Regions from separate parts of the Homo sapiens genome. Here all the other regions are linked to region 4. Evidence: promoter capture Hi-C in 16 types of primary human blood cells and fetal thymus (Javierre and others, 2016). All regions are on one chromosome and are shown on one strand. The core of a region is centred on a gene start or on the middle of the fragment in contact, and the rest is flanking DNA. Distances in the headings are between cores, read along the strand shown.

What was found. Contacts are between HindIII fragments. The CHiCAGO score rates a contact against its expected background, and 5 or more counts as called.
Region 1: a fragment that was not itself captured here is called in contact with the fragment with the promoter of HTR6 in region 4 in 1 of 17 cell types (non-activated CD4 T cells); the score reaches 5.2 in non-activated CD4 T cells.
Region 2: a contact is called between a fragment that was not itself captured here and the fragment with the promoter of HTR6 in region 4, in 3 of 17 cell types (naive CD4 T cells, naive B cells and total B cells). The highest score is 5.7, in naive CD4 T cells.
Region 3: a contact is called between a fragment that was not itself captured here and the fragment with the promoter of HTR6 in region 4, in 4 of 17 cell types (non-activated CD4 T cells, neutrophils, naive B cells and 1 more). The highest score is 5.8, in non-activated CD4 T cells.
Region 5: a fragment that was not itself captured here is called in contact with the fragment with the promoter of HTR6 in region 4 in 1 of 17 cell types (fetal thymus); the score reaches 5.6 in fetal thymus.
Region 6: a contact is called between a fragment that was not itself captured here and the fragment with the promoter of HTR6 in region 4, in 8 of 17 cell types (total CD8 T cells, megakaryocytes, total CD4 T cells and 5 more). The highest score is 7.4, in total CD8 T cells.
Region 7: a contact is called between a fragment that was not itself captured here and the fragment with the promoter of HTR6 in region 4, in 5 of 17 cell types (total CD4 T cells, naive CD4 T cells, naive CD8 T cells and 2 more). The highest score is 7.1, in total CD4 T cells.

The regions. Positions count from the first base shown.
Region 1 is chr1:19,299,379-19,302,078 of GRCh38, forward strand. It overlaps LOC124903867 (a long non-coding RNA gene), which reads left to right. Exons shown (of 3, transcript XR_007065521.1): 2 at 2,500-2,700. Among named protein-coding and RNA genes, the nearest start is that of AKR7A2, 11 kb to the right of the region's middle. The HindIII fragment of the contact is 8,280 bases long and covers 1-2,700 here.
Region 2 is chr1:19,161,660-19,164,359 of GRCh38, forward strand. It overlaps UBR4 (ubiquitin protein ligase E3 component n-recognin 4), which reads right to left. Exons shown (of 106, transcript NM_020765.3): 33 at 2,594-2,700; 34 at 2,105-2,168; 35 at 761-952; 36 at 168-238; 37 at 1-77. Among named protein-coding and RNA genes, the nearest start is that of UBR4, 47 kb to the right of the region's middle. RefSeq lists an enhancer at 1-291. The HindIII fragment of the contact is 701 bases long and covers 1,019-1,719 here.
Region 3 is chr1:19,282,408-19,285,107 of GRCh38, forward strand. AKR7A3 (aldo-keto reductase family 7 member A3) reads right to left here. Exons shown (of 7, transcript NM_012067.3): 4 at 2,611-2,700; 5 at 2,279-2,378; 6 at 1,589-1,718; 7 at 166-485. The coding sequence ends at 324. Among named protein-coding and RNA genes, the nearest start is that of AKR7A3, 5.0 kb to the right of the region's middle. RefSeq lists an enhancer at 1,220-2,095. The HindIII fragment of the contact is 2,847 bases long and covers 12-2,700 here.
Region 4 is chr1:19,663,564-19,666,263 of GRCh38, forward strand. HTR6 (5-hydroxytryptamine receptor 6) reads left to right here and starts at 1,312. Exons shown (of 3, transcript NM_000871.3): 1 at 1,312-2,700. The coding sequence starts at 2,191. RefSeq lists a silencer at 1,126-1,355 and enhancers at 1,134-2,106, 2,107-2,700. The HindIII fragment of the contact is 8,359 bases long and covers 1-2,700 here.
Region 5 is chr1:19,202,435-19,205,134 of GRCh38, forward strand. The region is part of intron 1 of UBR4 (ubiquitin protein ligase E3 component n-recognin 4); the gene reads right to left. Among named protein-coding and RNA genes, the nearest start is that of UBR4, 6.5 kb to the right of the region's middle. RefSeq lists an enhancer at 1-404. The HindIII fragment of the contact is 2,944 bases long and covers 1-2,700 here.
Region 6 is chr1:19,324,843-19,327,542 of GRCh38, forward strand. SLC66A1 (solute carrier family 66 member 1) reads left to right here. Exons shown (of 8, transcript NM_001040125.2): 4 at 653-740; 5 at 1,403-1,545; 6 at 1,689-1,781; 7 at 2,385-2,570. Among named protein-coding and RNA genes, the nearest start is that of SLC66A1, 14 kb to the left of the region's middle. The HindIII fragment of the contact is 2,420 bases long and covers 197-2,616 here.
Region 7 is chr1:19,183,421-19,186,120 of GRCh38, forward strand. It overlaps UBR4 (ubiquitin protein ligase E3 component n-recognin 4), which reads right to left. Exons shown (of 106, transcript NM_020765.3): 15 at 1,679-1,866; 16 at 596-755; 17 at 391-476. Among named protein-coding and RNA genes, the nearest start is that of UBR4, 25 kb to the right of the region's middle. The HindIII fragment of the contact is 2,852 bases long and covers 1-2,700 here.

The sequences.
Region 1 (2,700 bases), core at 201-2,700, 360 kb before region 4:
TGAGCCGAGATCATGCCACTACACTCCAGCCTGGGCAACAAAGTGAGACTCTGTCTCAAAAAAATAATAATAAATAAAAAATAAATAAAATAAAATAAAAAATCGATGCCCCCTCCTCCTTCAGTCTTTCATACAGCACAGAACAGCTTCCTTAGTTTGAGGATGATTAAATATATGAGATGCTCTCCAGATCCAGCTCTGCTTCTTTAGATTTTTTTGTTCCTTCTCACTTACTTATTATTTTTTTTTGAGACGGAGTCTCGCTCTGTCACCCAGGCTGGAGTGCAGTGGCGCAATCTCAGCTCACTGCAACCTTGGCCTCCTGGGTTCAAGCAATTCTTCCACCTCAGCCTCCTGAGTAGCTGGGACTACAGGCACCTGTTACCTCGCCCGGCTAATTTTTGTATTTTTAGTAGAGACGGGGTTTCACCATATTGGCCAGGCTGGTCTTGAACTCCTGACCTCGTGATCCACCTGCCTCGGCCTCCCAAAGTGCTGGGATTCCAGGCGTGACCCACTGCGCCTGGCCTCACTTATTTATTTTTTAATTAACAAATAAAAATTGTATATATATTTAAGGTGTACAACATGGTGTCTTCAAGAATCTCTTTAGATATGAAATTGCTGAATTCAAGAGACCATCAACTATGAGATATAGTATCCGGAAGATTCTAACGGATGGGATGTGACATAGCAGAAAATGCATCTCTGATGGGGATAGTCAAGACACAGTCTCCTGGCAGGTCCCGGGGCTCACCTTCTCCACTCAGGACTGTTGCTCCAAGTGTTACAGTTTATTTTCCAAAGATAACCACTCCATTCTCTCACGTGCTCTTTGCACAGGTATCTTTGACTCTCCTCCCAGGACACAAGAGTGATGTTATGGACTTCTGAGGCTGGGACATAAAAGGCCACATGGCTTCTGCCTAGTTTGCCTGGGATGTGCTCCCTTGGAAGCCACATGCAGAGGTCACGTGTGTGCCGGTTGATGACAGCAGCTGATATTCCAGCTGGCCCTCAGCAGCAACTGCCACATGCTTGAGTGAATGTCTTCAGGCAACCCTAGCCTCCAGCTGCTAGATCACCTCTGAGACACTGAGGAACAGATGAGGCTTCCCTGCTGAGCCCTGCTCTAACAGATTTCTGAGCTAATTGATTGTTTTATTACATATTATTGAGGCACTATATACAACTGACCCACTTAAAGTGTATAATTTAATGGTGTTTAGTGTATTCTGAATTGTACAACCACCACAGTCAATTTCAGAGCATTTTTATCACCTCCCCAAAAGAAACTCTGTACTCAGTAGCAGTGAATCTCCATTTCCTCCCAAACTCCCTCTCAGTCCTAGGCAACCACTCATCTACTTTCTGTGTCTAATAGATTTGCTTATTCCAGATACTTCATATAAATGGAATCATACAATATGAGGCCTTTTGTGACTGGCTTCTTTCACTTAACATGTTTTTAAGGTTCATCCACATTGTAGATGTTTCATACTTAATTCCTTTTTTTTTTTGAAAAATGTTCCATTGTACATACAGATATTTTGTTTATCCATTCACCTATTAAGATTGACATTTGGGCAGTTTCCACTTTCTGGCTATTATGAATAATGCTGCTATAACATTCACGTAATTTTTAATAAGGACATATATTTCTTTTTTTCTTTTTTTTGAGACAGAGTCTCACTCTGTCACCCAGGCTGGAGTGCTGCGGCAAGATTTCGGCTCACAGCAACCTCCGCCTCCCAGGTTCAAGCGCTTCTCCTGCCTCAGCCTCCCAAGTAGTTGGGATTACAGGTGTGTGCCACCACGCCTGGCTAATTTTTGTATTTTTAGTAGAGATGGAGTTTCACCATGTTGGCCAGGCTGGTCTTGAACTCCTGACCTCAGGTGATCTGCCCATCTCGGCCTCCCAAAGTGCTAGGATTACAGACGTGAGACACTGCGCCCAGCCTCATTTCTTCTAGGTATACCTAGGGAGTGAAATTTCTGGGTCATATAAATGCTTAATCTTTTGAAAAACTGCCAGAATGTTTTCCAAAATGGTTGCACCGTTTTACAGTCTCAATGGCGGTGTCCTAAGTCTCCCATTTCTCCAAACCCTCAACACTTGTTATTTTCTGTATTTTATTGACTCTGATGATCCTAGTGCTTAGCAGATTTGAAGGGGTTTTGATTTGCTTTTCCCTGATAAGTACTGATTTTGAGCAGCTTTCCATGTGGTTACTGACCACCTGTATGCCCTCTGGAAAAAGGTCTATTCCAATAATTTGCCCATTGTTTAATTGGGATTTCTTTCTTTTCTTTTTTTTTTTTCTTTTTTGAGGTAGGGTCTTGCTCTGTTGCCCAGGCTGGAGTGCAATGGTCTGATTTTGGCTCACTGCAGCCTCCACCTCCTGGGCCCAAGAGATCCTCCCACCTCTGCCTCTCGATTAGCTGGGACCACAGGTGCCCGCCACCATACCCGACTAATTATTTTGGTATTTTTTGTAGAGACAGGGTTTTGCTGTGTTGCCCAAGCTGGTCTTGAACTCCTGGGCTTAAGTGATCCGTCCGCCTGGCCTCCCAAAGTGCTGGGATTACAGGCGTGAGCCAGTGCACCCAGGTGGGTTTTCTCTTTTATTAAGTTGTAAGAGTCCTATAGCTAGAATAGATACAAGATTCTTAACAGATATGTGATTTGCAAAATACTAT
Region 2 (2,700 bases), core at 119-2,618, 500 kb before region 4:
GATCCTTGTGGCACACCTTAGCACACACTGTGCAGACACCCACGCCATCCACCATTTTACAGGTGTGACAGTGGTACCTACAAAGAACAAGAACCAGCAAATAAGCTCAGAAGTCCCAACAATCGGTGCCCAGCAAATCTTCACCTTAAAGGAAGAACTACCCTTACCAATGCTGGTTCATGAATTCTTTCTGTGTGATCGTAAAAGTGCAGAGTTTATTGCAAAGAGAATCTTCATCCTTCAAAAATAATAAGTCTTTTTAATTCGAAATATATCCCTGCATATAAACACCCACAAAAACACATGTGCCTCAACGCCCTATGGCGGGGTGAATAGTTGACTCGCAAATGACCCGTGGAAATCTACCACAACTGGAAATAGCTAGCTGGCTGAAAATCTGTTGTTACTTCAGGTGAGTGAGATCTTAGGGGTTTGTGGTTAAGAAAAAACATCTTATGCTTTCTCTATAGGGGAGCTTCCACTACCCCCCATGAAGAACTTATCCCTAAAATTCCATTTGGAATTAAAGACTGACAAAGCAGGACAAGTGACTCTGGAAAAAGCTTATGAAAAAGTCCTTTCCACAAGAGATTAGATCCCCATGCCTTGCTCTGAAGGCCTAGAAAATTGGGGCCTGGCAGCAACAAGGACTAGGAAGTTTTGAAGCTCACAGGAGGCTGGAAAACAGAGCCAAAAGCTTGGTACCATGCCAGTTAGTCATTACCTTGAGAGGTTAACTTCGAGGTTACTTAGTACTTACTGAATCCTCAGCCTGGGAATCTTCCTCTTCCACCGCCAACTCCTCCACCCAGTCTGAGTCTACTTCAATGGCCCGCTCTTCCCCATCCACTGAGAGATGACTTGGGCCTTGACCATTACTCTGGCTCAGGGCATTCGTGACATCAGCCAAGTAAGACATGATATGGCATGTGCACTCCAAGATCATCACATGCTGTAAGAGAAGCCCCACAGCAACTTCAGATTCTCCATGTTTCATTATGTAAACCATGTTTTCTCAAGCTTTTTCAAATAAAGCTCAAGATCAGAGAAATGGTATGAGAGCAGAGAAGAAAAACAGTGTGTTTTTATTTATTAACCAGGTTTTACCACTCCGTCCCCACGTAGCTGGTCAGTAAATTGTACTGAAGTAACATGTATTCATTCATTCTTAGGCACAAAGACAGCTCTTTACAAAGTCTTGTAAGATGAAGTAGGATTGAAATTAGAAGAATAGAGTAAAAACTGATTAAAATCATTCAAGAAAAGACCAGATTAGAGTATGAAGAGACTCCCATTAGCATTTCCCCCCTAACATTAGCATTTTTTAACCATTAAGTGAAAGTCATTTTAATTATCAGGCTTTAAAGTAATGCAGGAGAGGAATACCTTCAGAAATCAAGAGAAAAAAATTCTAGCAAATCATTGCAGATAGTTCATGCTTGCCTAGAAAACCCAATTAATTGGCATCAAAGACTCAGATTTCTAAGTTCCTTTGCTCTGCACTCTGACATGTCAGTGCTGAAAGGATAAAGATCAGCAAAAAAGGAGGGAGTAATGAATGGTACCAAAGTGGTTCTCAGAAGCTAGTTATCTGTTCCTAGCCACCTATGCCAGTTCATGGGTTGGGCAGGAGGAGAAAATGCCTGAATGCAGGATTTCTGTCAGTTTCAAACCGCTTTTCTTACCAGAGTAACCAGAACCTTCAGGCAAATTAAACAAAGCTTAGCATCTGGACTAGAGCTGAGGAGGCTGTATTTGGCCTTTTATAACACTGACTCAGAGTGGCACAGTTCCAAAGCCTGAGCAGGGAGACAGTTTCCCATAACATTCCAATATCTTAGGATGGCAGGAACTCTATGTTTTAAGAAAGATTCTGTCTGCTTATTTACCAGTATATTTCCTTCCCATCACTTCTTGCCAGCCAAAACATGCCTAAAGGCACACAGTTAGCAACTACATATTTCCAGTCTTTGAGATTATCAGCCTTATCCTTGGTAGGCTAGCCAGGCACAGAACTCAATAGGAACGAGAGACTTCCACCTGACCACAGAGGTGAGAATCACCTTTCCCTTCACCCCCCATTGTCATTCCTCACTTTTCTTACCTTTCCATGCATTACATTGGCATTCAGTTTTTCAACTACATTCTTCTGTGACAGGTATTTCTTGCTGTCCCAAAGAAAAAAAAGAGGGGAAAGAGGAGACACAAAATCATCGAAGAAACCAACGAAATGAGGCATCTTCATTAACTTTGAATCAATCTGAGGACACTGTGAAGCAGAAGCATTCTTAGAAAACTCCATAAGTACTATATAGTTACATAGCTTGGGGTGCTCTGGCCTTAGAATTATCATTAACACTTGGCATACTTTCCCCAAGAATTATCTTGGGAACAATGAACAGGAAACTCTACTAAGAAAATGATGAAGATGAAGTCTAAAGTGAACAGAGCTATTTGCTACCCACCCAACTCCCAAACTCCAATGAAAGGGTAGAGATTCAAATTTCTTCTGTACTCACTTTGAGCTATAAAGAAAGTAACCCACTTCTCAAGATCAATGTTGTAACCTACAGATACAACTTCATCATCTTACCATCTGCTCAGCCAATCCACAGCAGCATTATGAAGCTGAAGGTGACCAGCACCTTGACCTGCACTGGCCAGAGTGGCCATCACAACCATAAGTTCAGGGAAGCCAGT
Region 3 (2,700 bases), core at 185-2,684, 380 kb before region 4:
CCATGACTGTAAGCTTCCTGAGGCCCTCACCAAGAGCAGATGCCGGCACCACACCCCCTTGTACAGACTGCAGAGTGGTGAGCCAAATAAACCTCTTTTCTTTATAAATGACCCAGTCTCAGGTATTCTTTTATAGCAACGCAAACAGACTAACACACAGCACCCTGGGAGTTTTATTCTTCATTTGGTGGTGACTCTTCTATTAGGTTTTTGTCCAAATACTTCCATCCCTAAGAATTTACTGAGGCAGTTCTAAATTAAAGAAAATGTGAGTAACAAAAGATGTTACAGAAGAGCCTTGGGCAGCCTGAGAAACGATGGGCCTAGCGGAAGTAGTTGGGACATTCGTGAGTAACCAAATGCCAGGCTTGATTAAAGGCGTCCACGACAGCCGGCTCCAGGGGCCCTTCCTCTGCCGCTGCCAAGTTCTGCTCCAGCTGCTCCAGGCTGGACATGCCCAGGATGACCGCGTCCCCGTGGGCACCCTGCAAGGGAGACGGCCAGACTTCAACCCTCTTCTGCTGCACAGCGACTCTACTCACAGCCGTCCCAGCCACCTCCCTGCTGAGATTTGGGATCTCTTGTATCCCATATGTCCAGAAAGAACTTAAGGTGCCTTGGATAGCTGTACCCATGTGACGCAAAACCTGTATCCCTTCCCCTACTGCCACACGACGCTTCCAGACAGACCTACATTCACAGCCCAGTTCTGCCCCCCAGCAGCTGTGTAAACGCGGCTAAGTTATTAAACCTCTCTGAGATTCAATCCTCTTTTCTATTTTCAACATGGTTATGGGTGTGAAAAATTATGTAGAGCACTTAGCTCCCATTTATTGAGCACCTACTGTATATATGCCAGACACTATTGCAACATCTAAGGCTGGAGTTGGATATAAGTGAGGAAGACATGAGGCACTGAGAGAGGGAAACTCCAGCTCCCACCAAAAGGATGAGACTAGTGGGCTTTACAGTTAAACCTGTGTTAAAATGTCTGCCCCTTTCATAGCTGGGTGAAACTCAGTTTCCTCGTCAATAACACTGGGATAGTCATTTCATAAAGCTGAAGGAATAATGAAATCCCTGCAATGAAGCTCTCATTACAAAGCCTGGCACTCAGATACCATCAAAGACCAATGAGAAGGCCGAGCGCAGGGGCTCACGCCTATAATCCCAGCACTTTCAGAGGCTGAGGAGGGCGAATTGTCTGAGTTCAGGAATTTGAGACCAGCCTGGGCAACATGGTGAAACCCTGTCTCTACTACAAATACAAACAATTAGCTGGGCATGGTGGCGCACGCCTGTAATCCCAGCTACTGGGGAGGCTGAGACAAGAGAGTTGCTTCGGCCCAAGAGGCAGAAGTTGCAGTGACCCGAGATCATGCCACTGCACTCCAGCCTGGGTGACAGAGTGAGACTCTGTCCCCCCAAAAAAAAAACATAGAAAAAGACCAGTGGGAAGAATGTTTGTGAGAGTTGAAAGAAAGAGAAATTTCAGAGGAATCGATAAACAAATGTTTCAGCCTTCATCTAAAGATATTGCTGGTTCCCCTGGAAGGGAAGAAGCTGAGCGCACAGGGTCACTGGTTACCTGCAGCTGTGAGTGGTGGTACATCCACCGGAGGGTGGCCGAGGTCATGCTGGGGGCGCTGGCGCCATACGCGGCCTGCAGGGCCTTCTCCACCAGGGCAATGCCCTCAAAGTGGTGCTCCTTCCAGTAGCTGGGAAGGGGGGACGGTGGCACAGGTGTCAGGGCCACATTGGGAGCCACAACCAAAGAGCCAACCAGGGCCACTGTCCCACCCCACACCCTGCAGCCCTGAGGGGCAGGTGTTCTCTCTAGCCATGGGTCTCCCACTTTGCTGGGCAAGAGAACCACTCAGGATGCTGGGCCCCTCAGCAGAGACCTCAACAAATCTTTATTCCTGAGGACTCATCAGCCTGCTCTTATTTTCCTTAGGGACACAAAGGCCGCTAAGATGGGTCAGGACTCAGCCCCAGGCCTCCTGGACCTCCCTCCAGAGCTCCTTCTTTCCTTCCTAGCAGGTGATTGCTCAGGAAAGAGCAACGACTTCAAGACCCCGAGGTCCAGGGAGTCTCCTTTCCTCCTGGAGGTCCCAAGACAACAAGAAAACCGATGGAGGGTTTGGAAATTCCCGAAGAAATTCAGGGGAGTAGGTGCAGCAGCGAGGAAAGGCCTTACCCCAGGAGCAGCCCAGGACTTCATTCCACATAAAGCTGACCCCACCCCAGCCATCCACACCAAGCACCCACAGCTTACCGATTCCTGTACATCTCTGCCCAGGTATTCCCAAAGAAGCGGCCCACGGGCTGTTTCCCATTCTTGTCCTCATACTTGTACTTGCCGGTCAGCAGGCCCCCTGAGGGAAAGCAGCAATCAGCCCCGGGGCCTAGAGTGCCCCAGAAGCTGCCACATCCCTCAGGGCTCTGGTCTAGGGGAGGGGCAGGGACCCAGGAGGGCTGAAGATGCAGCCTTTACGTCTTTGACCTCAGAGGTCAAAGTTTGTCAAACCCTCCTTGCTTCCCAGGTCCTGGGCTGGGCATCTGTGGGTCGGGAATAGGCTGAGACAGGGCCAGGAATGCTCCACGTACCAGCCAGAGGGTTGAAGGCATAGAACCTCAGTCCAAAGTGCCTGAGGCAGGGGAAGAGCTCCGTTTCCACCTGCCGGGTGATGGCATTGT
Region 4 (2,700 bases), core at 62-2,561:
TATTTTTCTGTTTCTGTGGAGAAAAAATGATCCCACCCCGTTCTCTTTATACTACATTTTCTTTTTCTCTTTCTCTTCTTTCTTTCTCTTTCTTTCCTTTCTCTCTTTCTTTCTTTCCTTTTTTTTTTTTTTTTTTTTTTTTTTTTTGACAGAGTCTTGCTCTGTCACCCAGGCTGGAGTGTGCAGTGGCACAATCTTGGCTCACTGGAACCTCTGCCTCCCAGGTTCAAGCAATTCTCCTGCCTCAGCCTCCCGAATAGCTGGGATTACAGGCTCCCGCCACCACGCCCAGCTAATTTTTGTATTTTTGATAGAGACGGGGTTTTACCATGTTGGTCAGGCTGGTCTCGAACTCCTGACCTCAGGTGATCTGCCCACCTCCGCCTCCCAAAGTGCTGGGATTACAGGCGTGAGCCACCTCGCTGGGCCCACTTTCTCTGTTGATTATGCTTATTGTTTATTGTCTGTTTCTTCCACTAGAATGTAAGCTCCATGGAGGTGCGGATCTTTGTTTTGGCCACTGTAGTGTCCTGATGGGTCAGAACAGTGCCTGACATCTAGTGGATGCGCCTTAAAAGATGCATTGAAGTATCTGTTCAATGAATGAATGAATAACAGTATTAACCTGCACAGCAGTGTTAGGCAGAGACTCTTCTCAGCCAGAGGGGAGACGTACAGAGGGAGGTCACACCCAGGGGAAACCACACCCCACGCCTCTGCCTGCAGCGACTCTTAACACACCTGGCCTGGGGATTCTCAAATCTGTTCACGCTCTGTTAGACTAGGAGCGCCAACAGCTCAGGGACTTCATCCTTAGTACCTGGCCCCTTTGGGGATCGGGATGGTTTCTGCGGGAAAGGCCCTGGGGAAGGTTAGCTTCTTGCTCAAACTAACGGTGAAGAATGCCCAGAATTACTAACCCATTTTACAGATATGGCAACTGAGGCCCAGAGGGGTGTCAGGCGATTTGTCCAATATTTCCCAACTCCTGGCTCCCCTGAAAGCCCGGTGACCCCGTTGTGAGTGGGCAGGCACCCATTAGAGAGCAGCCCCTGGATAAGGGCAGGTCACAGCCCCCTGCTCCCAGTTCCGCCTGCGCCGCCGCCACGTGTGGGTTGGGAGGGGCATCTGAGGGTGTGGGGGCTGCCACAGCCCGGGAGGTGACCCCTCGCAGCTGGGGCGCTCTGATCTTCGGCCCACAGGCCCGGGGTGCCGGGACCCCGCCCTCCTGCAGGGCCAGGGCTCGGCTCTCCCCGCCCACCGCGAGGCGGGGCGCACGCTCCGCGGCGCGGGGACCGCGCGCTCCAGGCTGCACCCGGCCTCTCCTCCGCGCGTGCGGGCCCCTCGCGGCGCCTCCCGGGCTCGGGAGACCCGGTCCCGCCGCCCGCCCGGCCCGCGGCCGCCTCTTCCTCTCGCAGCCCCGCGGCGCTTGCCGCAGTCGCAGGCGGCGGAGCAGCCAGAGCGCCCCAGGTACCAGTGCGGGCGGGAGACGGAGGCGACCCTGCTGCCGGGTGGGGAGGGGGCGCCGCGCGGCCGCTGCCCTCCTCTTCCCGCGGGGCCTGGCGGCCCCGGCGAACCCCCGCGCCGCACAGGCCGTGTGCGCCGGATCCCGGTGCCTCCGCGCCAGCTGAGACCTGCCTTTCCCAGGGGCGGCTTTGCTCCGGCCCCTAGGCCCCCGCCCTGGTACCCCACACGCCCACCGGCCGCGGGGAGCCTGCTCCGGCCCGAGAGCGCCCATTCACCCCCCTCACCCACCTCCCCGCGTTCCCACTTCCCCGCACTCTGACCCGGCCGGACGCCCCTCCCCTATCTTGCCGCCCGCCCCCTCCAGGGGGCTCTGCTCCCACCCCAGGGAGCCCATCCGACCTCTGCTTGACTTCCCGCCGCTTCCTTCAGGGGCCTCGGCTCATCGGGTGCCCCTCCCCAAACTTCCAACCCGTTTGCTCCAGGAGTTCCTGCCCCATCCCCGAGGGCGCCCAAATAGCCACACTGTGTCCTCCTGTAGTCGCTGCCCCCTGACCTAGCGCGACCCAGCGCCCCCGCCCATGTCCCCCCACTCACCTCCCCCGGGGGGCGTGGTGAGTCGCGGTCTGTTCTCACGGACGGTCCCCGTCCAGCCTGCGCTTCGCCGGGGCCCTCATCTGCTTTCCCGCCACCCTATCACTCCCTTGCCGTCCACCCTCGGTCCTCATGGTCCCAGAGCCGGGCCCAACCGCCAATAGCACCCCGGCCTGGGGGGCAGGGCCGCCGTCGGCCCCGGGGGGCAGCGGCTGGGTGGCGGCCGCGCTGTGCGTGGTCATCGCGCTGACGGCGGCGGCCAACTCGCTGCTGATCGCGCTCATCTGCACTCAGCCCGCGCTGCGCAACACGTCCAACTTCTTCCTGGTGTCGCTCTTCACGTCTGACCTGATGGTGGGGCTGGTGGTGATGCCGCCGGCCATGCTGAACGCGCTGTACGGGCGCTGGGTGCTGGCGCGCGGCCTCTGCCTGCTCTGGACCGCCTTCGACGTGATGTGCTGCAGCGCCTCCATCCTCAACCTCTGCCTCATCAGCCTGGACCGCTACCTGCTCATCCTCTCGCCGCTGCGCTACAAGCTGCGCATGACGCCCCTGCGTGCCCTGGCCCTAGTCCTGGGCGCCTGGAGCCTCGCCGCTCTCGCCTCCTTCCTGCCCCTGCTGCTGGGCTGGCACGAGCTGGGC
Region 5 (2,700 bases), core at 2-2,501, 460 kb before region 4:
ATATACTGTTAGTGGGAATACAGACTAAAGTAACCAATTTTAGACCAAATAAGGCTGGCCTGTAATGCAGTAACTTAAAAGGAATCAACAACTCAAGATAAGAAGTCATATGATCAGTGCTAAAGTCCAAAATTCACTGGATAACAGAGTTATCCCCTACACCATCCCCCTGACTGTAGACTAAAGCGAGATCACAAAAGAGTCGGTGATTTTTTTTTTTAACCACATCCCTTATCCTTAGCTGGGGAAATGCCCTCTTCTGAAAAAATCTAGAGACCAACTAGGTTTAAAGGCTGGATACATTTAAAGTCATTGTATCAAATCAGGTGCTAATCCACAATTGATGAAACATGGGCCGGGCACGGTGGCTGGCCGGGTGTGGTGGCTCATGCCTGCAATTCCAGCACTTTGGGAGGTCCACGCAGGTGGATGACGAGATCAGGAGTTCAAGACCAGCCTGGCCAAGATGGTGAAACCCTGTCTCTACTAAAATTACAAAAATTAGCAGGTGGTGGCACGCGCCTGTAATCCCAGCTACTCAGAAGGCTGAGGTAGAGAATTGCTTGAACCCAGAAGGTAGAGGCTGCAGTGAGCCGAGATCGGGCCACTGCACTCCAGCCTGGGTGACAGCGAGACTCCGTCTCAGAGAAAAAAAAAAAGAAAGAAACATGAAGGTAAAGCAAAGACTAAAATATATTTTATTAAATGGAAAGAACAACAGTGTGGTTGAACAGTTTACTTAGTGAGTCAATCCCCAGCAGAAGTATCAACCTATGGTGGGACGCATTGTAGCTGGTGGCTCAAGCCTGTAATCCCAGCAGTTTGGGAGACAGAGGCTGGTGGATTATCTGAGGCCAGGAGTTCGAGACCAGCCTGGCCAATATGGTGAAACCCCGTCTCTAATAAAAATACAAAAATTAGCCAGGTGTGGTGGCACCCACCTGTAGTCCCAGCTACTCACGAGGCTGAGGCACGAGAATTGCTTGAACCCGGCAGGTGGAATTGCAGTGAGCTGAGATTGTGCCACTGCACTCCAGCCTGGGCAAAAGAGTAAGACTCCAACTCAAAAAAAAAAAAAAAGTATCATCCTAAGAAGGGAAATGTAAACAGAGTGAACACTCCATTCACTGCCTGCAAGACTATCTGCCTGCCAAATGAACACAGGAGCCAAAAGGACAAGTCACTATTTGGAAGGTGCCAATGTCGGTGATGAATCACCTTGAATAACACTTGAGAGTCTGGCATTGCGAGCACTTTGCTATATGCAGATCAAGGATAAATGGGTATGTATCAAAGATTAGTCCCTTAGAATAACTCCTTCACCAAGAAAAAAATATTTATGGAGCATCTATGATGTGTGCAAGGATCCTCCTGCCCACTAAGGGTCCTTTTCCATTTGTCAGGGTACATAAAAAGGAGAAAATAAAAACCTTTCCACAACAAGCAGCACTCAAAAGTTGCTGGTGACTAAACACAGTTTTAAGGCTCACATGTACAGCAGAAAACTCCCTACTAAATCCCCCTGTTTCTACCTCATATACTTAGTTTTTCCTTTACTTCCAGCCTTATACTTTATTTTTTTGAGACAGAGTCTCGCTCTGTCGCCCAGGCTACAATGTAGTGGCACTATCTCAGCTCACTGCAACCTCCACCTCCCAGGTTCAAGCGATTCTCCTGCCTCAGCCTCCTGAGTAGCTGGGATTACAGGTGCGTGCCACCACGCCTGGCTAATTTTTGTATTTTTTTTTTAGTAGAGATGGGGTTTCACCATGTTGGTCAGGCTGGTCTCAAACTCCTGACCTCGTGATCCACTGCCTTGGCCTCCCAAAGTGCTGGGATTACAGGCATGAGCCTCCACGCCTGGCCCCACCCTTATACTTTCTTATTTGTTTTTCTAAGGCTTTCCCACTCTGTCATTTGATGTTATTTTACTGGGTTTATTTCCAAAGTTCCTGATTTATTTCCAAAGTTCAGAGCTGCTTATCCCCACTTTTTCCAGCTGAACAGGTTTACCAAATCTAAGAGAAATACTGCCCACCCAAAGGATGGACTTAGCCTATTGCTTTCATACCCATTCTGATAATGAAATATATAAAAAAAAATATATATATATATAGGAGTAAACTCATTTAATTGCCTGGTTCAGTGTCATCCTATTGTGATCTAATGAACCCAACTTCCTCCCCTAGAAATACGTAACATCCTTATTCCAATAAAGAAACAGGAAGAATGCATTTTGGGGAAAGATAGACATTGGCAGAGGAAAAATGGAACGGTCTTCAGCTCTACTTATAATGTGCACTGGGCAACTAAGGATAAACCTGGGAAAAATTGGTTTTGAAGACTTGAAGGAGGAAATAGAGAAGTAATGGACATTGTCATATCTCTTGATTTTAAAGAAACAGTGTGCATGAGTCAGCTAATAGGGATGTGCTGCCATAATTTCCAACCTCACCCTCATGCCCTGAGAAAATGTTAAGACACCAAGACACCAGAGAATAAGAAATGGAAAAATGGAACAAAGGACAAAAAGTTAAGTAGGAAGGAGAAGAATGAAGAAATGGAAGCAAATATAAGCACGGGAAGGAAAATAAAGAGATAGAGGTGAAAGTACATCTTTGCTCTGGTTGGTCAAGCATCTTCCTGAATCACCTGTCGCTCCTAATGAACTGCAACAACAGCACCGCTGAGCGTGAAACA
Region 6 (2,700 bases), core at 157-2,656, 340 kb before region 4:
TTTGGCCCGCCTGGTCTCCAGAACCCTGACCCGTCATTCCATCTTGTGGGAGGGCCCCATCCTTCTGTCTGCCGAACTGTGACTGTGGGCAGGTCACTGCTCTTCTCTGGGCCTCAGTTTCCCCATCTGCAATATGAGCATGTCTAACAGGAAGGTTTCGGGGTCTTCCACCTCCAGGGTGCTGGAGTGCTGGCGAAGCTTTCAGAGGGTGGGCCCCTCGAGGAGAAAGGGAGTTTTTCCGTGGGAGGCCCAGATGCCATCCTGCTCCTGTGGGCAGGCAGAGCTGGGGCTCCCAATCAGGAAGGCATTGTCTTCCCATGTGGGACCAGAAAGTTCTGACTGCCCTGGTGTCAGGCCAAACCAGAGCCATCACTTCACCGCGGAGTCCCACTTTGTCCTGACTGCTAGCGCTGACCACCAGCTCATTGGCCCCTCCTGGGCTAGATCCTTTCCTGGGTCTTTCGCCCACCTGTTCTGTCATTCTGCCAGGTGGGAACTGGGAGTTCTTCCTTGCCAGATAAGGAAACAGAAGCTCAGAGAGGAGAAGTGACTTGGTCCGGGTCACCCAGCTGGGATATGACAGAGGGCTGCCGGGGCGTGGTCTCAGATCCTGGGACTGCGCCAACCCCTGGGCCCCCTGCATCTCTTACAGACCTACACGGCTGTGTATTATGTCTTGGCAGACCTGGTGATGCTGACGCTGTACTTTTACTACAAGTTCAGGACGCGCCCCTCTCTGTGTGAGTATGGGGACCGCTCTCTGTCAGATGCTCTACCAGCAGCAGGGGGCAGTTGTGGGGGGGGGCGCCTGGAGTGTGGGAGGAAGCGGGTTTCCCATGGCTGGGTGATAACCCAAACCTCGGAAAGCCTTCCCCGGGCCTTATCTAAGAGCCTGAGCCTTAACTGGCCAAGATAGAGGCTTGAGGGCAGTGAGCGCGTCCTGGCCCAGACCACAGGCCGGTTCCTCTCGCCCAGGGGCTCATTCAGCAGACACAGCTCCAGCTCCTCCTCTGTGTCCGGCCCTGGGCTTGGAGCTGGGGAAACGAGGGCAAGTCACACAGGCTGCCTCTGCCCCAGCCTTCAGGAGGAGCAGGAGACAAGGTCAGCTTGAGGCTATACAGACACGGGGAGGGACCTGGGGAGGAAGTTGTCTCATCAGCGTTCCTGCTTCGTGTAACCCCCTCCTGACCTCCCTGCCCTCAGCGTTTCACCTTTATAACTCTAGGAGAAGGGTACTGTTGTTGTACCCATTCGACAGATGAAGAATGAAAGCTCAGAGAGGTTAGGTCACTTGCCCAAGGTCACACAGCCCCTGAGGGGCAAGGCCAGGACTTAGCACCCTCCCCCGACAACCGCTGCCACTCAGCCATCTAACCTCAGCTTCCCCCTGCCTTGTGTGCAGTGTCTGCCCCCATCAACTCCGTGCTGTTGTTCCTCATGGGGATGGCGTGCGCCACACCGCTGCTGAGTGCTGCTGGGCCCGTGGCTGCCCCTAGGGAAGCCTTCCGGGGGCGGGCGCTCCTGTCCGTGGAGTCGGGCAGCAAGGTGAGGCGTGGGCGTGGCGGTCGAAGGGATGGAGGCTGGCTCATCCCCAGGGCTCTCCCCTGCACAGCCTCATGGGTGCTAAATGGGGTGGGGGATCACCTCTGGCTCCTACGAGACACCAAGTGCCCCCTTCTGCCCCACAGCCCTTCACCCGGCAGGAAGTCATTGGCTTCGTCATCGGCTCCATCTCCAGCGTGTTGTACCTGCTTTCCCGGCTGCCTCAGATCCGCACCAACGTGAGCCTCCAGCAGGGGCTGGGTGGGGCCGAGTAGAGGAGAGCTGGCCTGGCCACCCGGGCCCTCTGGGCTAAGGAGTAGCACAGCATAGGAGCCTTGGTTCAGAAAGTCTGGTCTACTCCCGCTGTTGGCTTGGGCAAGTTAATCCAATCTCCGAGCCTCCATTTCTGCTTCTGGAAAATGGGCGTGGCGTGGCCTGCCAGCCAGGCTACAAGAGGCCCATGTGTGTCTTGGGGGAGTGGGAGGTCAGGGGAAGGTGAGGGGCTGAGCTTGGAGGCCTGAGGGGAGAGGAGAAGCTGGGGAGTCGGGGAGGGGAGGCTTGCTGGGCAGCTAGAGCCTGTGTGGGGTGGAATGCAGGGTGGTGTGGGGCCACAGGCCTGGCACAGCCACGGTCTCCCGTGGACCTGGGCAGGGGCCTGGGGGGGCTTGTCTGTGGGTGGGAGGAGGCTCTTCTGTGTGTCGGGCCCATATCCCTGGGCACCCAGGGAAAGATTGGCTCAGAGCAGGTGCACTGTGGTGGGGCAGGTGGACATGTGGACAGTTACAATCCAGAGTGACAAGAGGCCTGTTCGAGGTCTCTGACCTGACCTCCTCCTGCCCCAGTTCCTCCGGAAGTCCACCCAGGGGATCTCCTACTCTCTGTTCGCGCTGGTGATGCTGGGGAACACGCTGTATGGGCTGAGCGTGCTGCTCAAAAACCCCGAGGAGGGCCAGAGCGAGGGCAGCTACCTGCTGCACCACCTGCCCTGGCTTGTGGGCAGCCTGGGCGTGCTGCTGCTCGACACCATCGTATCCTTCAGGGCGTGTGGGGCAGGTGGCGGGGTGTGGGCAAGGAAGCTTCTGCCTGCACACAGCGTCAGCACTCATCCGTCTCTTCCTCCCTTCATCCATCCGTCCATCCATCCATCCCTCCCTCCCT
Region 7 (2,700 bases), core at 49-2,548, 480 kb before region 4:
CTTAACAATTGGAGCTACAGGCCGGGCGCGGTGGCTCACGCCTATAATCCCAGCACTTTGGGAGGCTGAGGCGGGCGGATCACCTGAGGTCAGGAGTTTGAGACCAGCCTGGCCAACAAGGTGAAACCCTGTCTCTACTAAAAATACAAAAATTAGCCAGCCATGGTGGCACACACCTGTAATCCCAGCTACTCTGGAGGCTGAGGCAGGAGAATCGCTTGAACCTGGGAGGTGGAGGTTGCAGTGAGCCAAGACCGTGTCACTGCACTCCAGCCTGGGTAACAGAGCAAGACTCCATCTCAAAAAAACAAACAAACAAACAATTGGAGCTGCAGCCTATGGAAGCTGGTGTCATGAGCTCTTGCCTAGATGGTCACAGCACACACAAACCTGCAGGTTAGGTGACTGAAGGTCAGAGGTTACCAGTGAGTGGTTGAAGTGATAGAGAGCTGCAGCAAACTCTTCATCTGATGAACCTTAAAGACAAGTAGAAAAGCCAATTATTTAAGCAGCTATTGAATGCACCACACCTCCCTGCCAACAGCCAAACTCCATGAGAAAAAAAATCCATCAGGCACATATCTTGTCTACTGACCCTTGAGTCCATCTTTGTCCACCTCCTTGATGATACTGGCTAGGGTGGCCATATGGTGTTCTGAAAGAGATACACTCAGATAGTTTCGGATAAAATTGTTCCGAGAGTTCAGCATGGAAGAGGTGATGAAGTTCAAAATGTTGGAAGCCAGACCTAAGAACTGAAAGGAACACACACAAAAAAGCTCTTATCAGGGTCATAAGCCCAGCGTTCCTATAAACTCTGATTACAAATAGAAAATAAAATATGCTCATAGGTATCCTGCAATAAACACAATGAATGAAAGAATCAGATTTTAAATCACTTACAGTGGGCCTAAGTTTCATTATGAGTCTCTCTTTCCCACCTAATTCTACTTACACAAAATGGCATTCCAGTTTAATATAACAGATGTTACAAAACAGTGTATGAAAACAGGATTTCCAAATAGACTGACCCATTTCTTTTGTTCTCCTAAGGTCCTTTGTCCGGCTCCAATTCACTACTGATATATTCAATCCTGAAGCCTATATGAATGATTATTACACATATATAGAATTCCTAGCTCTTCTCTATTAAAATTAAATTGAATTATTGTATAAATGTTTTTTGTCCACATCCTTGACTGTAAGCTATATATATGAAGGCAAGAACTGTATCTGACTCACTCACATCATCAGAACGGGGACTGACACTTACTAGATAATACTAGTTGAACCAACAGTTCAACCACAGCAAGCACTGATGATATATCAGACCTATGCTAAGCACTTTATAAATAGTCTCTCTTTAAGATGTCACAACACCTTTAGATGCAGGTACAATCACTCCCATATGATAGGAGACAAAACTAAGGCTAGAAAAAATTCAGATTCTTGCCCAAAGTCACAAAGCCATTAAGTGATTCTAAAGGCCAGCAGAGAAACAGTAACAGTCACGTAAGTTATTTAATGACACATAATCAAGACATATAAGTCCTAAGCAAAAATATCTTTAAACATTACAGTTATCCAAGCCACAAAATGTTTGCATTCAAATTATCTGCTTCTCATACCCCTAGCTCCCCATGTCCACTTCCCCTAAACCTTAGAAACCTACTCTTACCAACTCAGGATCTTTGCGACTCGCCAGAATGTTGCCCTTCTCACCAGGGGCCTGCTTACTGGGGCTTTTAACCCGAGGAGAGCTTTCCAGTGGAGGAGGTGGGGGAGGAGGCGGAGGTGCTGCTTTCTCTTTACTGGGAGAAATAGTCTCCTCAAACCATTGCCCCAAAATAGGCTCACTGTCATCGTCTGAATAGAGAAAGATAAAGTAACGAAAATAAATATTTTTTAAAAGTGTTTTTGGTGCATCTGCTTCCTAAAAGTACTTAAGTCAAAAGGAATACAAGGATATCCCAATTGTGATGATGGTTACAAGATTGCATTTGTGTATCAAAACTCATCTAAATGCATACATAAAATAAGAGCAAAACTGATCATCAATAACTGATTCAAATGTTTGGATAGATTCAACCCGTTAAGAATTTCTCACATTATTGCATGTAAATTATACCCCAATAAAACTGATTTCTTTTTTCTTTTTTTTTTTTTTTTTTGAGAGGGAGTCTCGCTCTGTCACCCAGGCTGGAGTGCAGTGGTGCAATATTGGCTCGCCGCAACCTCCACCTCCCAGGTTCAAGCGATTCTCCTGCCTCAGTCTCCCGAGTAGCTGGGACTACAGGCTACAGGCATGTGCCTGGCTAATTTTTGATTTTTAGTAGAGATGGGGTTTCACCATATTGGCCAGGCTGGTCTCGAACTCCTGACCTTGTGATCTGCCCACCTCAGCCTCCCAAAGTGCTGGGATTACAGGTGTGAGCCACCGCGCCCAGCCAATTTTTCTTTAAGGAGCCCAACAAAGAAAGAAAAACAACTTCACATTATTTTACTGGTAACAAGCCAAATATTTTCAAGAGCGAATTTATACTTGCCTTATCAACCATAAATCACAGGACGGTAAGAATCACACCTCCCTTCGTATTTCACATTGTTCCCACAAACCTGATTATGAAAGAATCTGAGGTACTTACCTTATTCATTCTCTCATCAAACTAAGGCAGGAGGGCATGCCAGTGGGTTCACTAC